Regions from separate parts of the Homo sapiens genome. Here all the other regions are linked to region 1. Evidence: promoter capture Hi-C in 16 types of primary human blood cells and fetal thymus (Javierre and others, 2016). All regions are on one chromosome and are shown on one strand. The core of a region is centred on a gene start or on the middle of the fragment in contact, and the rest is flanking DNA. Distances in the headings are between cores, read along the strand shown. Region 1 holds the start of ZBTB11-AS1 (ZBTB11 antisense RNA 1). Region 2 has its middle 6.0 kb from the start of NIT2. Region 3 overlaps CMSS1 (cms1 ribosomal small subunit homolog). Region 4 overlaps CMSS1 (cms1 ribosomal small subunit homolog). Region 5 has its middle 9.1 kb from the start of CMSS1. Region 6 overlaps TBC1D23 (TBC1 domain family member 23). Region 7 overlaps TOMM70 (translocase of outer mitochondrial membrane 70).

Region 1 (2,700 bases), core at 191-2,690:
CTGAGCCTAGGAGGTCGAGGCTACAGTGAGCTGTGATCGTTGTCACTGCACCAAGCAAGACCCCCTACGCTCTGTCTCCAAAAAAGGGAGATAAGTATTAAGGTTTTATGAAGGTTAAATAAATGTCAAGGGCTAACGACTACATCCTGCATATACAAGCTTGATCAATGTTACCTATAGTTACAATTATCATCTTTAACAAATCCTGAAGTATTAAATCTGAGACATTTGTTCAACAAACTAATGTCTACCCAAACCCATCCAAACAAAATGCACTGATTACTTCATTACCTCATAATTTAATCTTCGCATTTGTCTGTCCTTACAGGAATTTAATTCAGATATTGGTTTAAAGTGGAAAATAAATGGAAGAATTTGATTATCCAATAGTTCGTAAACGAATAAACTTGATGATGTTTATAAACCGAAAAGAACTTTAGAAACTATTCAGTAATTTCGTTATTCACAGACGAAGTAACCAAGATTTGAATGAAATAACTTTTCTGTAGCCATATTGGAGAGTGACAGCACTGTTCCTAACAAAATTTCTTAAATGGGACTATAAACTATTAACTAATTCTGACAGTTTGAATATTCATTAACTGTGGAGAGTGAAGATGGTTAAGAAGCCAAGGACACTTGCTATCCTCCCTTACAACTGGTTCCCAAGGAGTCAAGTAACTTCAGAGCTGTATTTTTTGACAATCAAAAAGTCACAGTAATCGTACCTTTTCTGCGTATATACAATGCTACACAGTTCCCAAACGCGTTTTTCACATCATTAGGGGAAAGATTATTAAAACATTCAGAGTTACGAATATCAAGCTGGGCGCCGTGGCTCATGCCTGAAATCCCAACACTTTGGGAGGCCGAGGCGGGAGGATGGCTTGAGGCCAGATGGAGACCAGCTTGGGGAACGAGGCGAGACCCGTGTCTACTCAAACACCCCGCCCCCGCAAAACCAAACAACAAAAACAGTAACTGATATCTTTTACATTTACTTCTTGTTCTTAAAAAAAAACGCTCAAGGCGATTTCTCAATCACTCCTTATCACTTCTGCAAATAATTGTATTATTCCTTATTTACGCAGCAGCGGCAAAATTTGAGGAACACTAGCGAATGTGTCCAGAGCAGCTCATACTCGCTCGCCAAAACCCAAGCGCAGCACTAAAGAAACGGGAGACCCGGCTTCGGGTGACTCGTCCCCCCTTCCAAACGTCAGCACAGTCGAAAACGTGCACCCCGCAGCCTCCACTGCCGCGAGCCACACGCCACCTCCAGAGGGCCGGGGCCTACAGCCTCAAGGGGCCGCCCAAGGAGGCGGACCTGGCGCAGCCCAGGCGTCCGGCCCCTCCCCGCGGCTGGCCCGGCCTCCGGGGAAGCCCCCTTGGTCCCACCCAGGGCCAGGGCCCGCCCCCAGCTTCGCCGGCCTCCTTCCTGTGGGAAGTGCGGCTCCTTTCGCGTCCCCCACCCTCTCGGCTCCGCCTGGCAGCAGCTCCGCCGCCCAGAGGCGTCCGAGACCCTCCGACTCGTGGGTACGCATAGGCCTCGCCAGCGAGCCTTGCCCAGGCAACGAGTCGCCAGCCCGCCCCCTCGCCGCGGGCTAGGTCTCACCTCGCCACCAGTACGTCTTGGACAAGTAGTGCCAGGTCTGATGCCGGGTGTGGTGAGTGCCGCCGGGACCCAGGTGCGCCGCCTCGATGAGGTCCCGGCGTCGCTCCGGCTGCAGCACCACCTCCAGCTCCGCGAAGGTCTTGCGGTGCCGCTGCCGCCGCTGGTAATACAGAGTCCCGCCGCGCACCACGTAGCAGGCGGCAGCTTTTCGGATTTTACGCTTGACATTGCCCTCGGTGCCCGGCGCATACGGCTCGCGCTCGTTCGTCAGGTAACGCAGGATGGCCCGGTAGCTTTCCTCGCTTGACATCGCGGACCGCGGCTCCCTGAGGGCGCCTGTCAGGGACAGGTGAGGAAAACGGCCCGCTACCTACGGGCGGCTGCAGGAGGAGCGGCGGCACCGTAGGGAGAAACGGCTGCGCCTTTGGCGAGCGCTCTTCGACGGCTCCCTTAGTCCGAAGGAAAAGCGGGCGAGTTGGTAACCAGGGGGAACTGCACTTCTCCAGCGCGCGGGATCCGCTGGCGACTGACAAAATGGCTGCTGCACCACCGGAAGTGACGCAAGGCAAGGGCGGGGACTGAGCCCTGATTGGAGCGCACTCTCGTTTTCTGGCTTGATGGAGCCGATCCAGTGACGTCAGGAATGCGGGTGGACATTTTGGAAGCGGGTAGGACCCTTCACTGCAGTTCGAGGGAGTCTTTAAGCAGACATCTTAAGTCCTGGCAGTTTCTCTTTTCATTTTTCCCTTTTCCACGCTTTCTAAGGAGCCACGTGTAGGGGGAGCTGGTGGACAGTTGAGAGTTCAGCCGAAACATCCAGAGGGTTAGGAGTCCGTTTTTACGTTTGAGACTCCCAACATCATAAAAGCATATTTTCAGGCTTCTGGAAAAATATTAGTCTCTTGACACGGGACCAGAGACAGCCCATTTACATGGAAATTTAGATTCCAGTTAACAGTTATAAAATTTTCAGTGCCTCCCTCAGTGATGAGTTATTGTTTCTAAACTTGCACCTGCTAGCTCCAGACTACTCAAGGAAGAGTCGAGATTCTTTTGGAATTATCAGCATTTATAGTCAATGTTAT
Region 2 (2,700 bases), core at 183-2,682, 1.3 Mb before region 1:
AAAGATAAATATTTGGGACAATTAAACTAAAGAGCTTTTTTCACGGCAAAAGGAACAATCAGCAAACAGACAACCCACAGAGTGGGAGAAAATCTTCACAATCTATACATCTGAAAAAGGACTAATATCCAGAATCTACAACAAACTCAAATTAGCAAGAAAAAAATCCCATCAAAAAGTGTGCCCATGGAATACTATGCAGCCATAAAAAAGGATGAGCTCATGTCCATTGTAGGGACATGGATGAAGCTGGAAACCATCATTCTGAGCAAACTGTTGCAAGGAAAGAAAACCAAACACCGCATGTTCTCACTCACAGGTGGGAACTGAACAATTAAAACATTTGGACACAGGGTGGGGAACATCACACACCGGGGCCTGTCGTGGGGTGCAGGGCGGGGGGAGGGATAGCATTAGGAGATATACCTAATGTAATTGACAAGTTAATGGGTGCAGCACACCAACATGGCACATGTATACATATGTAACAAACTTGCACGTTGTGCACATGTACCCTAGAACTCAAAGTATAATTTAAAAAAATTCAGGGCATATAAACAATCAAATTTTGTTCTACCACAAAAAAAAAGTGTGCTAAGGACATGAATAAACAATTCTCAAAAGAAGATATACAAATGGCCAACAAACATATGAAAAAATGCTCAACATCACTAATGATTAGGGAAATGCAAATCAAAACCACAATGTGATACCATCTTACCCCTGCAAGAATGGCCATAATCAAAAAATTAAAAAGAAAAAAAGATATTGGCATGGATGCTGTAAACAGGGAACGCGTCTATGCAGCTGGTGGGAATGTAAAGTAGTACAACCACTGTGGAAAACAGTGTGGAGATTCCTTCAAGAACTAAAAGTAGAACTACCATTTGATCCAGCAGTCCCACTGCTGGGTACCTACCCAGAGGAAAAGAAGTCATTGGTTGGTCACGGTGACTCACACCTGTAATCTCAGCACTTTGGGAGGCCAAGGCAGGTGGATCACCTGAGGTCAGGAGTTCGAGACCAGCCTGGCCAACATGGTGAAACCCCGTCTCTGCTAAAAATGCAAAAATTAGTTGGGCATGGTGGTGGGCACCTGTAATCCCAGCTACTCGGGAGGCTGAGGCAGGAGAATGGCTTGACCCCAGGAGGCGGAGATTGCAGTGAGGTGAGATTGTGCCATTGCACTCCAGTCTGGGTGACAGTGCAAGATTCCATCTCAAAAAAAAAAAAGTCATTGTAAGAAAAAGATAACTTGCACACACATGTTTACAGCAGCACAATTTGCAATTGCAAAAATGTGGAACCAACCCAAATGCCCATCAATCAATGAGTGGATAAAGAAACTGTGAGATATATATATATATATGATATTCAGCCATAAAAAGGAATGAATGAATGGCATTCGCAGCGACCTGGATAATATTGGAGACTATTTTTCTAAGTAAAGTAACTCAGGAATGGAAAACCAAACATCGTATGTTCTCACTCATAAGTAGGAGCTAAGCTATGAGGATGCAAAGGCATAAGAATGAGACAATGGACTGTGGGGACTCGGGGAAAGAGTGGGAAGGGGGTGAAGGATAAAATACTACAAATTGGGTGCAGTATATACTGCTCGGGTGATGGGTGTACCCAAATTTCACAAATCACCACTAAAGAACTTACTCAGGTTACCAAACACTACCTGTTCCCCAATAACCTATGGAAATAAAACAACTAAAATAAATAAATAAAATGAAAAAAATAGACCCCCACAAATAATGGGCAGTTGTTTTGAGCAAAGTTTCAAAGGCAATTCAATAGAGAAAGGATAGTCTTTTCAACATACACTGTTGGAACAACTAGATACCCATATACAAAGAAATTAATCTCAACCTATATACCTCAAACCTTATACAAAAATTAACTCAATGCATCATACAGCTAAATGTGCAATGTAAACCTATAAAACTAATAGAAAACAGGAGAAAATTTTCATGATCTTGGGTTAGGCCATAGTTCTTAGACATATGAAAAGCACAATCCATAAGAATGAATCATGTCTATTATCCCAGCACTTTGGGAGGCCGAGACGGGCAGATCACGAGGTCAGGAGTTTGAGACCAGCCTGGCCTGCAAGGTGAAACCCCCTCTCTACTAAAAATACAAAAATTAGTCGGGCTTGGTGGCGTGCGCCTGTAATCCCAGCTACTTGGGAGGCTGAGATAAGAGAATCACTTGACTCTGGGAGGCAGAGGTTGCAGTGAGCCGAGATCACCACTGCACTCCGGCCTGGGTGACAGAGAGAGACTCCATCTCAAAAAAAAAAAAAAAAAAATCTTAAATTTAAAAATTTTGCTCTGCAAAAGACACTTAATAGAAGGGAAAGACAAGCTACATACTGGGGAAAAATACTGTACTTGCAAAACATACCAACAAAGGATTTGTGTTCAGAATATATAAAGATTTTCACTACAACAATAAGAAAACAAAACAATGGGGAAAAGAAGCAATTCTTCAGAGAAAGATGGGTGGCAAATAGGCATGTGAAAAGATCATCATTAGCTGTTGGGGAAATGTAAATCAAAACCACACCAGTTAGAATGGCTAAAATTAAAAACAAAAAATGACAATACCAAGTGCTGGTGAGGATATGGAATAACTAGAACATTCATACATTGCTGGTGGGTGTACAAAATGGTACAGACACTCTAGACA
Region 3 (2,700 bases), core at 176-2,675, 1.8 Mb before region 1:
TTCTAGATAGTTCATCTTTGGGTTAGATTATATGTCGGATGAGGAAATGGGTAGATTTGGGTGTGGGTCTAGGCCTGCGAGTGTTTGTGTGTGCATATACACATATAGAAGTAAAATAATTGTAGACGTGCTGCTTTTTGGGGGATGATCTTCATCAGGTCCACAAAGCTGCTTCACCATTTCCTGGAGAGATGGTCCTTTGGCCTTTCATAGTGGTAATTTTAGCTTTCCACATATTTCTGTAGATGAATGTATCCAGGCAGTGCATTGGTATGAGTTACCTTCTCCCTCCCACGTGGAGGAAGGTGTTGGAGGTGACAGTTCTCACGATGTGTAGCTTCCCACAGCCATTTTGGTAAATAGGCTTATCCATAGGCACTGTGGGGGCTTTAGTGGAAATCTTGGTGATGCCTGTAGATTTCGGTTTAGGGATCCGTGCTGGGATTCTCTGCTTGCATACCTCCTTGATCTTGAATTAAACAAGAGAACAAAAGGTAATTAATGGTACAGTTGGTGGAGAAGTAGAAATTGTTTAGGACATGGAGTCAGTTTGGAGGATTTGGCTTTGAAAGCACCAGTTTCTGGGGATGTATCAGATCAAAGATCGTCAGGTTGAAGAAAAGAATGTCAGTAAAGTAATCTGGTGTGTGTTGAATGTGTGCTGTGTGCACAGTTCTTGATAGAGATAGTGGTAGATACAGAGATGAATAGATATTTGGCAATCACGGTGTAGTAGGACATATACAAGAGTAGTGTCCCAAATTAATCTCAAAGAGCCATGAGATTGCCAGAGAAAGGTTAATTTCGAATGAGATTGTCTTTAAGAGTGCTTCATGAAGAATATGGCATTTGACTTGGGCCTTCAGACTTTTAAAAGTTTTCACAGTATGAGTGAGATGGGCAGCTCCAATGATGATTAGTGGAACAGCTTGGTAGTATGTATCAAGAGCCTTATGAATCTTTTCTAGGATGTAGAGAGGCAGTCAAGGATATTTGATTTTAGCATTGTTTATAATGATGAAAAATGGACAGTTAAATGAATAGGATGTGTTAAATGAATTATAGTATAATTATGACAACATGCTTTGTTAATGAGGCCAAAGCTTCAGGAAAACGTTTACTTAGATATGTTAAAAGTAGAATTTAAAACTGTGTACATGCTTTAATTATTTACATGTGAAGAGAAAAATACTAAAAGAAAATGCACCCATGCTATTGGTTGTTAACCCTGATTAGTGGACTTACAGGTACTTTTGATTTTTCTTACATTTTCTGTGTTCTCCACATATTTTATAGTAAGTATGCTATGAGAAAAAGGAACACTAAATTGTTTTAAAAGACGAAAAAGGAAGGAAACAACTTGGAGATCAGGACATTTCTGTGAACAACCATATTATCCAAGCCATGAGCAGTAGAAGCTGCAGTTGAAGTCAGTGACAGACTAATCAAGTCTGCTAATATTGTGACTATAGCATTAATAATAGCCTTCCCAAGATGGATTTCTGTGATGTCCTGTAACTTTATCAAGATTTAGATTGGGTCTCCAATTTAGTGTTCAAAAATCTATGTTGGGATCGTCTTTAAATTGTAGATTTCTGAATCTTACTCCTATGCATTGTAATTCATTGGTTTGTGGATATGTCCAGCAATTCACATTTTTAATAAACTCTCAGAGTGATTTCTTCAACTCAGGTGGTTGGCCTACCACACTTGGAAAAGTGCTGCCATAATTGAACTTCCTTTAGATGTAAGCTTTATTTTTTCTTCACCTGGAACTCTAGCCTACCTGGGTATGCATAGTTCAATACTGTGAAAGGCCGAGACAGATTGGTATGACACACAGTATTGGTGGAGCTCGTTTCTTTTGAGCAACACTGATACGTGTTGGTGAAGAAAATGTGGCTTGGAATGGTGGTCACTGATACTTTCAGGCCCAGCTGCCTGAAGGTTACTGGGCTCCTACTTGTTTCTACACCATTGATGTGCAAGCTTTTGTTTTCTAGGTAACTCCATTTTCATTACGTAGTTTTTACCTCTAGATGGCAGCAAAGGCTTGTTATTTTATCAGAACAACCCCAATTGTCATTCCTAAATCTTTTTTTTTTTTTTTTTGAGACGGAGTCTCGCTGTATCACCCAGACTGGAGTGCAGTGGCGCGATATCGGCTCACTGCAAGCTCCGCCTCCCGGGCTCCCGCCATTCTCCTGCCTCAGCCTCCCCAGTAGCTGGGACCACAGGCGACCGCCACCACGCCCGGCTAATTTTTTGTATTTTTAGTAGAGACGGGGTTTCACTGTGTTAGCCAGGATGATCTCGATCTCCTGACCTCATGATCCGCCCGCCTTGGCCTCCCAAAGTGCTGGGATTACAGGTGTGAGCCACTGCGCCCAGCCATTCCCAAATCTTTAAAAAAAAAAAAAAAAAGGCCTAGCGCAGTGGCTCATACCTGTAATCCCAGCACTTTGCGAGGCTGAGGCGGGCGGATCACTTGAGGTCAGGAGTTCGAGACCAGCCTGGCCAACACGGTGAAACCCTGTCTCTACTGAAAATACAAAACAGCCGGGCGTCGTGGCGCACTCCTGTAATCCCAGCTACTTGGAGGCTAAGGCAGGAGAATCGCTTGAACCCACGAGGCGGAGGTTGCAGTGAGCCGAGATCATAGCATTGCACTCCAGCCTGGGCCACAGAGCAAGACTCTGT
Region 4 (2,700 bases), core at 116-2,615, 1.8 Mb before region 1:
GTTCTCGTTCTTGGGCTCAGAATTAAAACTGCTGCTGTCCTATCTTAATCTGCTAAAGCATCTCAGAGAACAAGCATGAAGAGGGAGTGTTTCTCATATCTGAAAAAGAAACCAGGGACTTTCCTTGGTAAGCCTTCCCATTTTTGTTTGCCCAGCTTTCCCAGGCAGAGACGATGTTAGTGCAGATGAAGGTCAAGGAGAATCTCAAGTCTTTTTTTTTTTTTAAAAAAAGGAGGGATGTGCAAAGGCTGATAAGTGTTGGTGATAATCTGCTAGGAATTAGTGTACCTAACAAAATGACTCAAAACATGAATGTCCTACCTCATTTTAAGTAGAAAATGACCAGCCATAGGAGGTTCTAAAAGTCATTGCAGCACACTTTAAGCATAAGTGACTGGGTTGGTGGCTAGAAAATGTTGTGGTGATGACAGCAGCAACCACAGAAATATTGCTTTGAAGGTTTGTGATGCTGGCTGCATATGCAGTGTCTCTTCATCTTTAAATCCTTATTTAAATATAATTTACAAAAACTAAACAATCAGTTTAAATTGAAGCTGAATTCATGGTCAAATACAAATTAAATGGACCTTAAAATCGTTTAAAATTAATATGTCCAACAGATAAGGTAGGGTGTATTAGATTTTTCAAAGATGACAGGCTCTGTGAACAACAGATGGGGCCATTTCAGTTCCTGAAGCAGGTTGAGACCAATATTGCCTTACATCCACAATATCCAGTCTTTTATAAACAGTTCTCTTCTTGCCCCTCTTCCTTTTTCCTTTAAATAGGAGGGGCTGTATGTTTTTTTTCTATTCACCTTGTAAAATGTTCACTTTGCCCTGAAGCACTAGACATGGACAGAACATGACCTAAGCAGAATTATTGGAATCTTATTCTTCCTCCTACATTTTCAGTTTTTTTTCTTAAATCTCAAAATCCATTTATTACCAAAGGCACTTTTTTGGAGGGGAAATTACAGCAGAGAACCCTTAAACAAAATTTACAGCCTTTTGAGAAGGCAAATTAATGGGAACTGCAAGAGAACCGGAAAATTAAGTCAAGGCTTGATTTGTGTTTTCATACTGGCTGTTACTATAGTCTCCATCACAGCATTAGGAAAATAGCACAAAAATACCAGGGCTTAACAGTTAAGGTTAATCACCACAAAAGTGCAAATGAACTTACTAAGCATAAAATTATTATGTGCTTTATTTGGAAGTGTAGAAATTCACATTCATTCTATCAAAAACATTTTCCCATCATACAGATTGTCCCAAGGACTAAGAAATTGCTCATCCAAAGAGCCCAGTGTGAGATAGGGTATCCATGATAAGTCATACTTAGCTTTCAGTTTTAAAAGAGGTCTTATGTGATTGTTCTTTGAACCATGCTTTAAAGTTAATAAATGGGAAAAAGTGTGGAATATTAAAGAGTGTTATTTTTAAATTTTAAAAAATCGATGCTTGCCTGCTTTAAAAAAATAAAAGACACTGGGAAACACAGCTGTTAGAATTTTGATGGAAGTTATGATTTTCAACAGTTGAGTTGTAGTTTATGGTACAGATGGTACTCTGGGTATACCTGAAACAATAATTGATGGTTTCTGTTTGTCTCTTCCTCTGTTAGATTCAGAAGAGCAGAATATCTTTTTTCCAGAGCAGGAATTTTTCAGTTTCCAATTACCGCTTATATCAGATAAACAACTCTTCCATTGCATATTCTGTACTTCTCCACAGTGACATGGGTGTTGGCCCCGCTCTTCTCATTATGGTGGGCTTCCCTAGGTTTGAAATAATAGTTTGTGGAAAATCCTACTTCTCAGTACTAACCTGCAGTTTATATAGCCTATCCTCAGGCCAAATAACATATAATTTTTCTTTTAAAATATGAAAACCAAAGTCGTGCATTGCTCCAAACAAAATTAGCAAAAACAAAAAAACTGCTATGAGGCAAAAATGATAGGCACCAATGTCATATACTTTTAAAAACCATCCAACAGAAATTATTAGAAATATACAGATATAACCCACATTTTGAGTATTTTTTAAATGCTGTGTTTCAATGATAAAATCTGGGATCTGACATTTTCTTCTGACAATTAAATATAAAAACATGAGTTTGTAACACACACATACACCTCAGTGGTTATAGTGCTCTGCTCCTCTGTTAAACTTTTACTGTACCTCCAAACAGTTATCTTATATGGTCATTTTAGTGCCAACTAAAATGCCAGCATTTTAAAATCTCAGAGTAAATATAAATGGCAGCCTATGAATTCTGAGTTTGAATTGTATATACTTATAAAACATAGAGACTGTTTTAAAAGGGACAATTCTGTCACATAGTTGTTAAAGTTTTATTTTACAATATATGTTTAGACCAGATAAGGATTGAATGATGAATCAATTTTTCATCTCCTATTCCAGTGTTCTAAAGTTGACATAACCTTTTTATTTTTAATTCCTACGTTGACTTTTAGTTGGAAAAAATGAAGTAAAATATTATGGAGATTTTTCTGCCAAGTGTTCAGTTATCATACTGTAAGAGTTCATTGGTAGCAATAGCCTCTTCAGGATTTAGATGTAACTAATTATGGTTTAAAATGTTACTGATTAATACAGTTACTCTATAAGTTTTACCTTTTAAATTGGCATTTTTTACATAATATACTACTATCCAAAATATTACTCTAGAAATGAT
Region 5 (2,700 bases), core at 138-2,637, 1.9 Mb before region 1:
GCCTTAAAAAGGAAGAATATTTTGACACATGCTATAACATGGATGAACCTTGAGGACATTATGCCAGTCACAAAATAACAAATATTGTATGACTGTACTTATATGCAGTACCTAGAGTAGTCAAATTCATAGAGGTAGCAAGCAGAATGGTGGTTGCCAGTGGCTCGAGTGAGGGGGGTTTTTGTATAATGGGCACAGAGTTTCAGTTTTGCAAGATAAAAAGAGTTCTGAGGATGAATGGTGGTGATGGTTGCACAACAATGTGAATGTACGTAATGCCACTGAACTAAACTGTACTTAATATACTTAAAAATGGTTAAGATAATAAATTTTATATTATGTATATTTTACAATTTCAAAAAATGATGTTAAAAAGTAAAACTAAAGGGTAAACTATTTATCAATAGGAATAAACCATAGGAGGCAATTGGAAATGACTTCCAGCAGCCTCCCTTACCTCCAAGTTCACTGCACTTCTCACCAATAATGCATCAGGGGCCTAAGCAGCAACATTTTGGTGGTCCAAAAACCACAAATCCCAGCTCTCCCAGGAACACTTCTGCAGACCATTATGGAAACTGCCACTTTCTGTGCCTCCTCTACTTCAGTGGATGTTACCTTCTAGAGACCTTAAGACCTGGCTGCTGGACGCAGATGCTCTGCCTTCACCCATTAACTTCAAAGTACAAACCCAAATGACTGGATTTCCTTTTCCTCAGGCCCAAATATGCAATCTGCATGCTAATTCTCTTATTACAAAAGCAAAGTTAACAATCAGGTTTTTCTTCCCCTAAATGAGAGGATCTTTACAGAGTCCATACATACTGAAGACATAAGATTAGAAAAAGGAAGCTTTAATTCAGCCACCTGACCTCAGCAGGCCCTGTCAGGAGAAGGAAGGAAAATCCACTGCCAATCTAGGCAGGGACCAACAAAGGAATACGGTTTTGGCAGCTTGCAGGTCCCTAAGGAACAAGGTCTCCCTCTCGTGGCCATGATAGAAACAGCAGTTCAAGAAGCAGGTTTCAGTCATTTTCTTCTTACAGGAATTCTGTTATGTCAGACATTCAGAAAGGTCATAGTGGGAATGGCTAGCCTCTGCTCCATGATGTCTTGGACCACAGCTTGGGATCAATCAACAGCTGGTGACTGGAATCACCTGGGGGTATCTTTATTTATAGGTCTGGCTGTGGATGCTGTCAGCAGGGACCTTAGCTGAGCTGTGGACCAGAATAGCTACACGTGTTCTTTCCACAGGGTTTCTCTGTGTGGGCTACTTTGAGCTTTCTCAGAGTGATGCCTGGGTTCCAAGTGAGCATCCCAAGGGAGCAAGGTGGAAATGCACAGAATTTTAGGGATCTAGCCTCAGAAGTCACCGAATATCATTTCTACCATGTTCTCTTGGTTGACATGATAAAGTTCTGCCAAGGTTCAAGGAAAGGGAACACAGATCCCACCACTCAATGGGAGAACTGTCAAGGTCAGATTACAAGAAGAGTAGGTGAGATGGAGGATATTGGTGGCCATCTTTGAAAAATACAATCTACCGCATTGTCCACCTGGTTGGTCAATGCTTCACTTGTAGTGGATACTCTCTGGTGGACACACACATGTGCCACAAAGACACACACACTTTGTGCTCACTCCTTTAGGTCCCTCCACATGCCTCTTCCTCAGGTCTCTTTATTATTGAACTTCACATATTCTATCTTAGAGACCTTTCACCCAATCAACCATACCATTCACTGTTGCTCAAGGCCCTACATTTACACTGACCTCAGACTATTTTCTCCATTCAAAGGAGATGAATGCATGTACTGAAGCTCTGCCAACCAGGATTCTGTTCACCTCTGTCCTTTAAGGATCCTCCCTGAGTGGAACCGCAGTGTAGTAGCAATCCATTTTCAGTTCTACCAACATACCAAGCTTAACCAGCTTTGAGCATTTTCCAACATTATCAGCTGGTCATAGAGAATAACCCAGAGGACATAGGTGTGAGCTGAGGAACACAAAAGGCAAGGAGCTCTGAGCCATCTGTTCATGTATCTTGTGACTTTTGGACTTGCTTACATGTGCTCGCATGTATACCATTTCTGTTGTTCAGTGGATTGTTACTGTGAGCACCCAACCTTACAAGAGCCAATTCCTGAAGGGCAGTTCTGGTCATATAGTCATTTGATATTCCATAGTCAAGTGCCTGTTTCTGCTAGGACTCTACATTTTGCCCACAGCTGCTTTTCAAATGGTTTGGCTGTAGAAGGCAAAGCTGTACTAGAAAATCCTTGGAGCAGGCACCGTGATTCTCTCTTTAGGATCTGCCAGAGATTCCATCCAGCATCATTATCTATCACTCAGCACCTTTGGATCTGCCATGTCATTATGGCCTGAGTGGCAGGGCAGCTTGTGTCGTAGCCAAGACTTGCTGCTGAGCCCTCCCTTCTCTTGACCCTATTCAAAAATGGCAGCCTTTTGAGTCACCTGATAAATGAGTTAGAACACTATTTCCAAATGTGGCATAGGCTATCTGCACAAAATACTGTTTCTCTTAGGGGAAGATGAGAGATACAAAAAATTTTCCTTTACATTGAAGGGGATTCCCAGGCATGCTTCAGATCACCAAACTCCTAAAAATATAACCAACATTGCAGTTCCCTGAACATTTGTAATTTCTCTCTCACCCTTTGGCATGCATGTATTTTA
Region 6 (2,700 bases), core at 1-2,500, 1.4 Mb before region 1:
CTCCAACCTGGGCAACAGAGCAGGACTCTGTCTCAAAACAACAACAACAAAAAACACAAAAAAGAATTATACTCGCATCTCTTACATTTGGTACATCAGGATAACTTTTCTTCAGAAAATAAAGGCCTAAGTGGCAATGTCTTTAAAAAGCAAACATTTACAAGGGATATTTAAAAATGTAGCTGCATGGATAGTAGTTTGATTATACTTTTGCTTATTTTTGAAGACTAGTCTGAGATAAGAAAGGTTAATAGTTTTAACTATTTCTTATTGAATAAATAAGGTAATTTCAGGCTCCACACTCACATATGTGCAAATAGTAGTTTGATCATACTTTTGCTTATTTTTGTAGACTAGTCTGAGATAAGAAAGGTCAGTAGTTTTAACTGTTTCTTATATAATAAAAAAGATAATGTCAGACTCCACGCACATATATGTGCAAGTATATCCTAAATTTTTTATTCTACCTTCTTTTTTTTTTTTTTTTTTTGAGACAGCGTCTCGCTCTGTCGCGCAGACTGGAGTGCAGTGGTACAATCTCAGCACACTGCAACCTCCACCTCACAGGTTCAAGCAGTTCTCTGCCACAGCCTCCCGAGTAGCTGGGATTACAAGCACCCATCACCACGCCCGGCTAATTTTTGTACTTTTAGTAGAGATGGGGTTTCACCATGTTGGCCAGTCTGGTCTTGAACTCCTGACCTCATGATCCACCTGCCTCGGCCTCCCAAAGTACTGGGATTACAGGCGTGAGCCACCGCGCCCAGCATCTACCTTCTATTCTTAAAATGATTTCACCTAATGAATTAGTTTGCAGCTGCCGCAACAAAATATCATACTACAAACTGGGGGCTTAACCAATGTAAATTTATTTTCTTACTGTTCTGGAGGCTAAAAGTCCAAGATGAAAGTATTGGCAGGTTTAGTTTATCCTGAGGCCTCTCTCCTTGGCTTGCAGATGGATGCCTTGCCTTGTGTGTCCTTACATGGCTTCTCTGTTTTCATGTGCTCATGTCTTTCTCTCTTATAAGGACACCAGTCAGACTGGATTAGAGACCACCTGAAGACCTCATTTAACCTTAATTATGCCTGTAGAGGCCTTGTCTCCAAATACAGTCACATTCTGAGATATACTGGGAGTTAGGACTTCAACATATGATTTTGGTGGGATTGCAATTCAGTCTATAACATGTAGATAACCATTAGCAGTAGTATGTCTTTTAGTCATTCAGAGGCAGTTAATCCATTATGTTCTTTTTTTAGGGTGAATCTCCTAATGGCTCAAGTGATAGAGGAATGAAATCACTAGTAAATAAAATGACTGTGGCTTTGAAGACAAAATCCGTTAATGTCAGGGAAAAAGTTATCAGTTTTATAGAGAATACATCAACTCCTGTGGATCGGTGAGTTGTTTATACAGTATGAGTTTATGATGAGTAATTAAAACTAAAGAAACAATGTCTTAGAGTAAGTAAATGTTAGTTGAATTTAATGTGTTCCAGAAAAGGATTATAAAGTATATTTTCTATTAGATGATTTCATAGTTTTCATTAGAATTGCAGGAATGTACTTTATATCCATAATTATTCTCTCTTACTACTCAAAGATGCAAATAATGTATCTGTCACATCATGCCATTCACTAAAAGAAATTTATGTCCCAGTATGTATCACATTTCATATAGTAGCTGCTTCCCAAATGTCAAATGGATGGAGAATCATCTGCCGAATTCAGTGATCTCATAGTAGGAACTTCTTCTTCTGCTCCAAGATTTTAAAACCTAGAAAATCTGGTCATGCTAAATATAGCAGAAACCCACCTTCTGATGTTTAAGATCAGACCTTCATAGAATTTCGTTTACAAAACCCCATTTCCTTGTAAATTACAAATGAGGGACATGGTTAACAATTTAGAAATAAGTTTAAAAATATCTGTTATATATATTGTTTCTTATTGTAACTGAGGATACATTTTTTTCTCCACGTATAAGTCTGTTTGATCTTTCTTGTTCCTAGAGTTCAAAGCTAACCTTATAATTGCAACACAGAATTTGTTTTAAGGAAGCCTCATATTGGAAATGTGTTATAGTATTTGGTTTCACTTTCATGTCTTGCAGTATCCTGGGAAAACTGACATATTTTACTTTAAGAATTGAATGTCAGGGATTTGTTGTCTGTCCCTTTATTAAGTATAGTATATATGCATACAAAAGCACATTTTTCTGCATTTAGTAAATAGCCGAGAAGGTAATAGATTATTTTCATTGATCCAAAACATTGTACCTTATCTAAAATGGTCAACTGATAATTACTAAGGTGTTTTATCAAGCCTGAAAGACTTGTTTATGCAGTAAAGTTATGTCTTCTCAAAAGCTAACCCTTTTACCTTTTGTTGGTGCTTCTGAGTTGGAGGACTATTATTGCTACATTTTGTAGCATGAACATTTACAATTTTATTTTAAAATTTATTTGTTTTAAAATGTACTGGTGATAACTAAGTCAAAAAGACTGCTGCCTTGATTAGTTGAAATTGGCTTTTCTTTGTTTTTCTTTGTACTTGGGATGATGGAAACATCTTCTTTATAATGTACACTCTGGGTGAGAAAAACTAAACTGTACCATATTTTTTGTTTTAAAGCTGTTGCATTTTTTTTATAATCATTTTGTTCTGTCCTCTGCCTTGATTTGCTATAGAATGTCT
Region 7 (2,700 bases), core at 123-2,622, 1.3 Mb before region 1:
CAGCACATCTTCTTTATAATAAAAATCAGAAAGATATAGAAAGTAGAAATATTTTTATAGCTTCCATCATTGTGAGCATGGATGCCTTCCTGATATATTTTTCTATCTCTATTTACTTCCCTATTTGTTTTCTTTCACATGGTTGAGTTCATTTTGTATGCAATTCTCCCTTTAATAATAGGCAGTGCTGTATCTTGCTTTGTAACTTTAATGTATTTGTAACTTTTAATGGCTGCATAATATACCATTAAGTGAGTGTACCACAATTCTGCAAACATAATTCAATTTTCTGTTAACATTTAGGATTTTCCCCAATTGTTTGTCATAGTTAACAATAATGTAATAAATACTTATTTTGAAAACAAAAGCAGCAGCTATAATCAACTTTTTAAGACAAATCCCACGGCTGAAATGGAAGGCACAGTTCTGTGGATATCAGACTATGCTCAAGCTGTAACTTTGCGAGTTGGCCAGCATCTACGCCAAAGCTTTGAGGGCCAAAAAAGTTACACTAAGTATATATATATACACATACACATACACACACACGTACTGTATGCATATATAAAGTTACATATACTATATAGTGAAGCTAAAATTAGAAAACAGACCAAAGAAAAGAAATTTGAGTGCAAACTGACTGTAATAATGCTAATGCTGATGAGAAGACAGCTCATACAAACCAAACCTATCTTGAAGGCAGAATGGTAATAGGGAAATATGCTATTGGGAAAGTTCTGCAGAGGAGTTGTTCCCCAGTAGTGGTTCCTATTCGGTGGCCTTTGCTCTTCTAGATGCTTAGAGAAATCTGCACCAAAAAAGCCCTTCTGAATTCCATGACAATGATGAGGATGTTGCTGTCATTTCCTGGTTTGTTACTAATTATAAGGCATAAACTCAAGTGTACCCATTCATAGGATTAAAATGTACACTTTAATGTAGTTATATATAAGACCTACCTCTAAAGAACAGATCCAACACAAATCAATTTTCTCATAGTTCCACCCTCAATAAACCCTTAAAATCCTTGTGAAATTGTTCTTATAACCTGCCTACAGATACCATGAAGGAAATTAAAAACAAAATAAGCATCCTTAAGAATGGTTTAAGGAGAGGGGTCAACCAGCGATGGTATTTTTTTTTTTTTTTTTTTTTTTTGGAAATGGAGTCTCACTCTTGCCCAGGCTGGAGTGTGGTAGTGTGATCTCAGCTCACTGCAACCTCCGCCTCCTGGGTTCAAGCGATTCTCCTACCTCAGCCTCCCGAGTTGCTGGGATAACAGGTGTGCGCCAAACCACACCCAGCTAATTTTTGTATTTTTAGTAGAGATGGGGTTTCTCCATGCTGGCCAGGCTAGTCTCAAAACTCCTGGCTCAAGTGATCCGCCTGCCTCAGCCTCCCAAAGTGCTGGGATTGCAGGCAGGAGCCACCACACCCAGCCAGGGGATAGTAATTTGTTATCGTTTCCTATTTCTGTGCTGTGGGGAAAAACCCAACATGTCTTTTGTAATTAAAAAGAGAAAAAAAAAGAAAAATAAATTACATAGAGCAGCAGTCCCCAACACCTTCCCAGCACTTTTGGCACCACGGATTGGTTTTGTGGAAGACAATTTTTGCATGGATGGGGGTAGGAGGAGGAGGGATGGTTTTGGGATGAAACTGTTCCACCTCAGATCATCAGGCATGAGAATCTAATGCTGCTGCAGATTTGACAGTGACAGGAGGTGGAGCTCAGGTGGTGATGCTTGCCCAAGGCTCACCTGCTGTGCAGCCCCATTCCTAAGAGGCCACAAAGCAGCTGTACCCCTGATATAGAGTATTGAGATGGCTAGTTTATGTAGACACCAAAACCAATTTTCAGCTTTAAGAAAGAAAACTGAGTCATTCAGAGATCTTTTATTTGAGGGGAAAATGTATGACCGTCACTACAAGAAGCTAATCATTTTCATTTAAATGGATGATTTAAAACTAAGAAGTTTTCAAGAATTTCAGACTACAATAAAAAAATTCAGATTTAAATCCTGCTTTCCATAGCTTCAATCCTAAACCAAGAGAGTTTCAGGAATTTTAGATAAAGCAAAGATAAATTAAAATAAACCGTTACAACAACCTAGCCATATAAAAAGGCAGTGACCAGATAGAAAGAAAAGCCTTTCCGTGGATATTTTCTCCACCAATTGCATACGGTAAATTTTCCTAAGGTAATTACTTTTTGCAAAACCAATCCAAATGAAGACAGGAGGGAAATTCTCGCCTTAAGCTTCCCCATATTGAGTTTAGGGCCATGATTTCCAAATTGTGTAACAAAGGAGCCTCTTCTGAGGTGATTCGGGACCAACCAGGGGCCATGAGAATCAATCAGGAACAAAGCCACCTGCTTCCAAAGAAGCTGCAACCATGATAGCACTGTTTTCTGATTTCCATACTGAGATTTGGCATATGTATGCAGTTATTTTTAAAAAACCTGAAAAAACATTTACCTGGGCGTATAGTGCATAGCCTTCGGCACACCTTGGAAATTTCTTTATGACCTCTTCAAAACCTTTCATAGCTGCTTGGATTTGTGAAGAGTTGTTTCCCGTATATGCCTGGCGGTACTATAAAAAATCAAAACAGGCCTGTCAAATCAAGAACTCAAAAACTCATGGAATGTTAACATAAACACACAAAATTACATAAATATTTCCAAAAAAACAGGTG

Evidence for each region. Contacts are between HindIII fragments. The CHiCAGO score rates a contact against its expected background, and 5 or more counts as called.
Region 2: a fragment that was not itself captured here is called in contact with the fragment with the promoter of ZBTB11-AS1 in region 1 in 2 of 17 cell types (total B cells and M2 macrophages); the score reaches 5.7 in total B cells.
Region 3: a fragment that was not itself captured here is called in contact with the fragment with the promoter of ZBTB11-AS1 in region 1 in 2 of 17 cell types (total B cells and fetal thymus); the score reaches 8.3 in total B cells.
Region 4: a fragment that was not itself captured here is called in contact with the fragment with the promoter of ZBTB11-AS1 in region 1 in 2 of 17 cell types (M2 macrophages and total B cells); the score reaches 5.6 in M2 macrophages.
Region 5: a fragment that was not itself captured here is called in contact with the fragment with the promoter of ZBTB11-AS1 in region 1 in 1 of 17 cell types (total B cells); the score reaches 5.6 in total B cells.
Region 6: a fragment that was not itself captured here is called in contact with the fragment with the promoter of ZBTB11-AS1 in region 1 in 1 of 17 cell types (monocytes); the score reaches 5.4 in monocytes.
Region 7: a contact is called between a fragment that was not itself captured here and the fragment with the promoter of ZBTB11-AS1 in region 1, in 1 of 17 cell types (M1 macrophages). The highest score is 5.3, in M1 macrophages.

What each region holds. Positions count from the first base shown.
Region 1 is chr3:101,674,990-101,677,689 of GRCh38, forward strand. It overlaps ZBTB11-AS1 (ZBTB11 antisense RNA 1), which reads left to right and starts at 1,441. Exons shown (of 1, transcript NR_024407.1): 1 at 1,441-2,700. It overlaps ZBTB11 (zinc finger and BTB domain containing 11), which reads right to left and starts at 2,143. Exons shown (of 11, transcript NM_014415.4): 1 at 1,616-2,143. The coding sequence starts at 1,925. LOC124906262 (endogenous retrovirus group K member 5 Gag polyprotein) reads left to right here and starts at 1,456. Exons shown (of 3, transcript XM_047449415.1): 1 at 1,456-2,700. RefSeq lists a silencer at 1,195-1,564 and an enhancer at 1,281-1,835. The HindIII fragment of the contact is 10,842 bases long and covers 158-2,700 here.
Region 2 is chr3:100,327,369-100,330,068 of GRCh38, forward strand. No RefSeq gene overlaps it. Among named protein-coding and RNA genes, the nearest start is that of NIT2, 6.0 kb to the right of the region's middle. RefSeq lists a silencer at 834-1,064. The HindIII fragment of the contact is 4,443 bases long and covers 1-2,700 here.
Region 3 is chr3:99,830,137-99,832,836 of GRCh38, forward strand. All of the region lies in intron 1 of CMSS1 (cms1 ribosomal small subunit homolog), which reads left to right. FILIP1L (filamin A interacting protein 1 like) reads right to left here. Exons shown (of 6, transcript NM_001387850.1): 6 at 1-469. The coding sequence ends at 278. The region is part of intron 1 of LOC105374010 (a long non-coding RNA gene); the gene reads left to right. Among named protein-coding and RNA genes, the nearest start is that of HP09053, 7.6 kb to the left of the region's middle. The HindIII fragment of the contact is 649 bases long and covers 1,102-1,750 here.
Region 4 is chr3:99,872,707-99,875,406 of GRCh38, forward strand. The region is part of intron 1 of CMSS1 (cms1 ribosomal small subunit homolog); the gene reads left to right. All of the region lies in intron 4 of FILIP1L (filamin A interacting protein 1 like), which reads right to left. The region is part of intron 1 of LOC105374010 (a long non-coding RNA gene); the gene reads left to right. Among named protein-coding and RNA genes, the nearest start is that of HP09053, 50 kb to the left of the region's middle. The HindIII fragment of the contact is 2,943 bases long and covers 1-2,700 here.
Region 5 is chr3:99,807,391-99,810,090 of GRCh38, forward strand. No RefSeq gene overlaps it. Among named protein-coding and RNA genes, the nearest start is that of CMSS1, 9.1 kb to the right of the region's middle. The HindIII fragment of the contact is 1,074 bases long and covers 851-1,924 here.
Region 6 is chr3:100,309,140-100,311,839 of GRCh38, forward strand. It overlaps TBC1D23 (TBC1 domain family member 23), which reads left to right. Exons shown (of 19, transcript NM_001199198.3): 14 at 1,264-1,403; 15 at 2,694-2,700. Among named protein-coding and RNA genes, the nearest start is that of NIT2, 24 kb to the right of the region's middle. The HindIII fragment of the contact is 4,750 bases long and covers 1-2,700 here.
Region 7 is chr3:100,370,126-100,372,825 of GRCh38, forward strand. TOMM70 (translocase of outer mitochondrial membrane 70) reads right to left here. Exons shown (of 12, transcript NM_014820.5): 9 at 2,481-2,597. Among named protein-coding and RNA genes, the nearest start is that of TOMM70, 30 kb to the right of the region's middle. The HindIII fragment of the contact is 1,772 bases long and covers 487-2,258 here.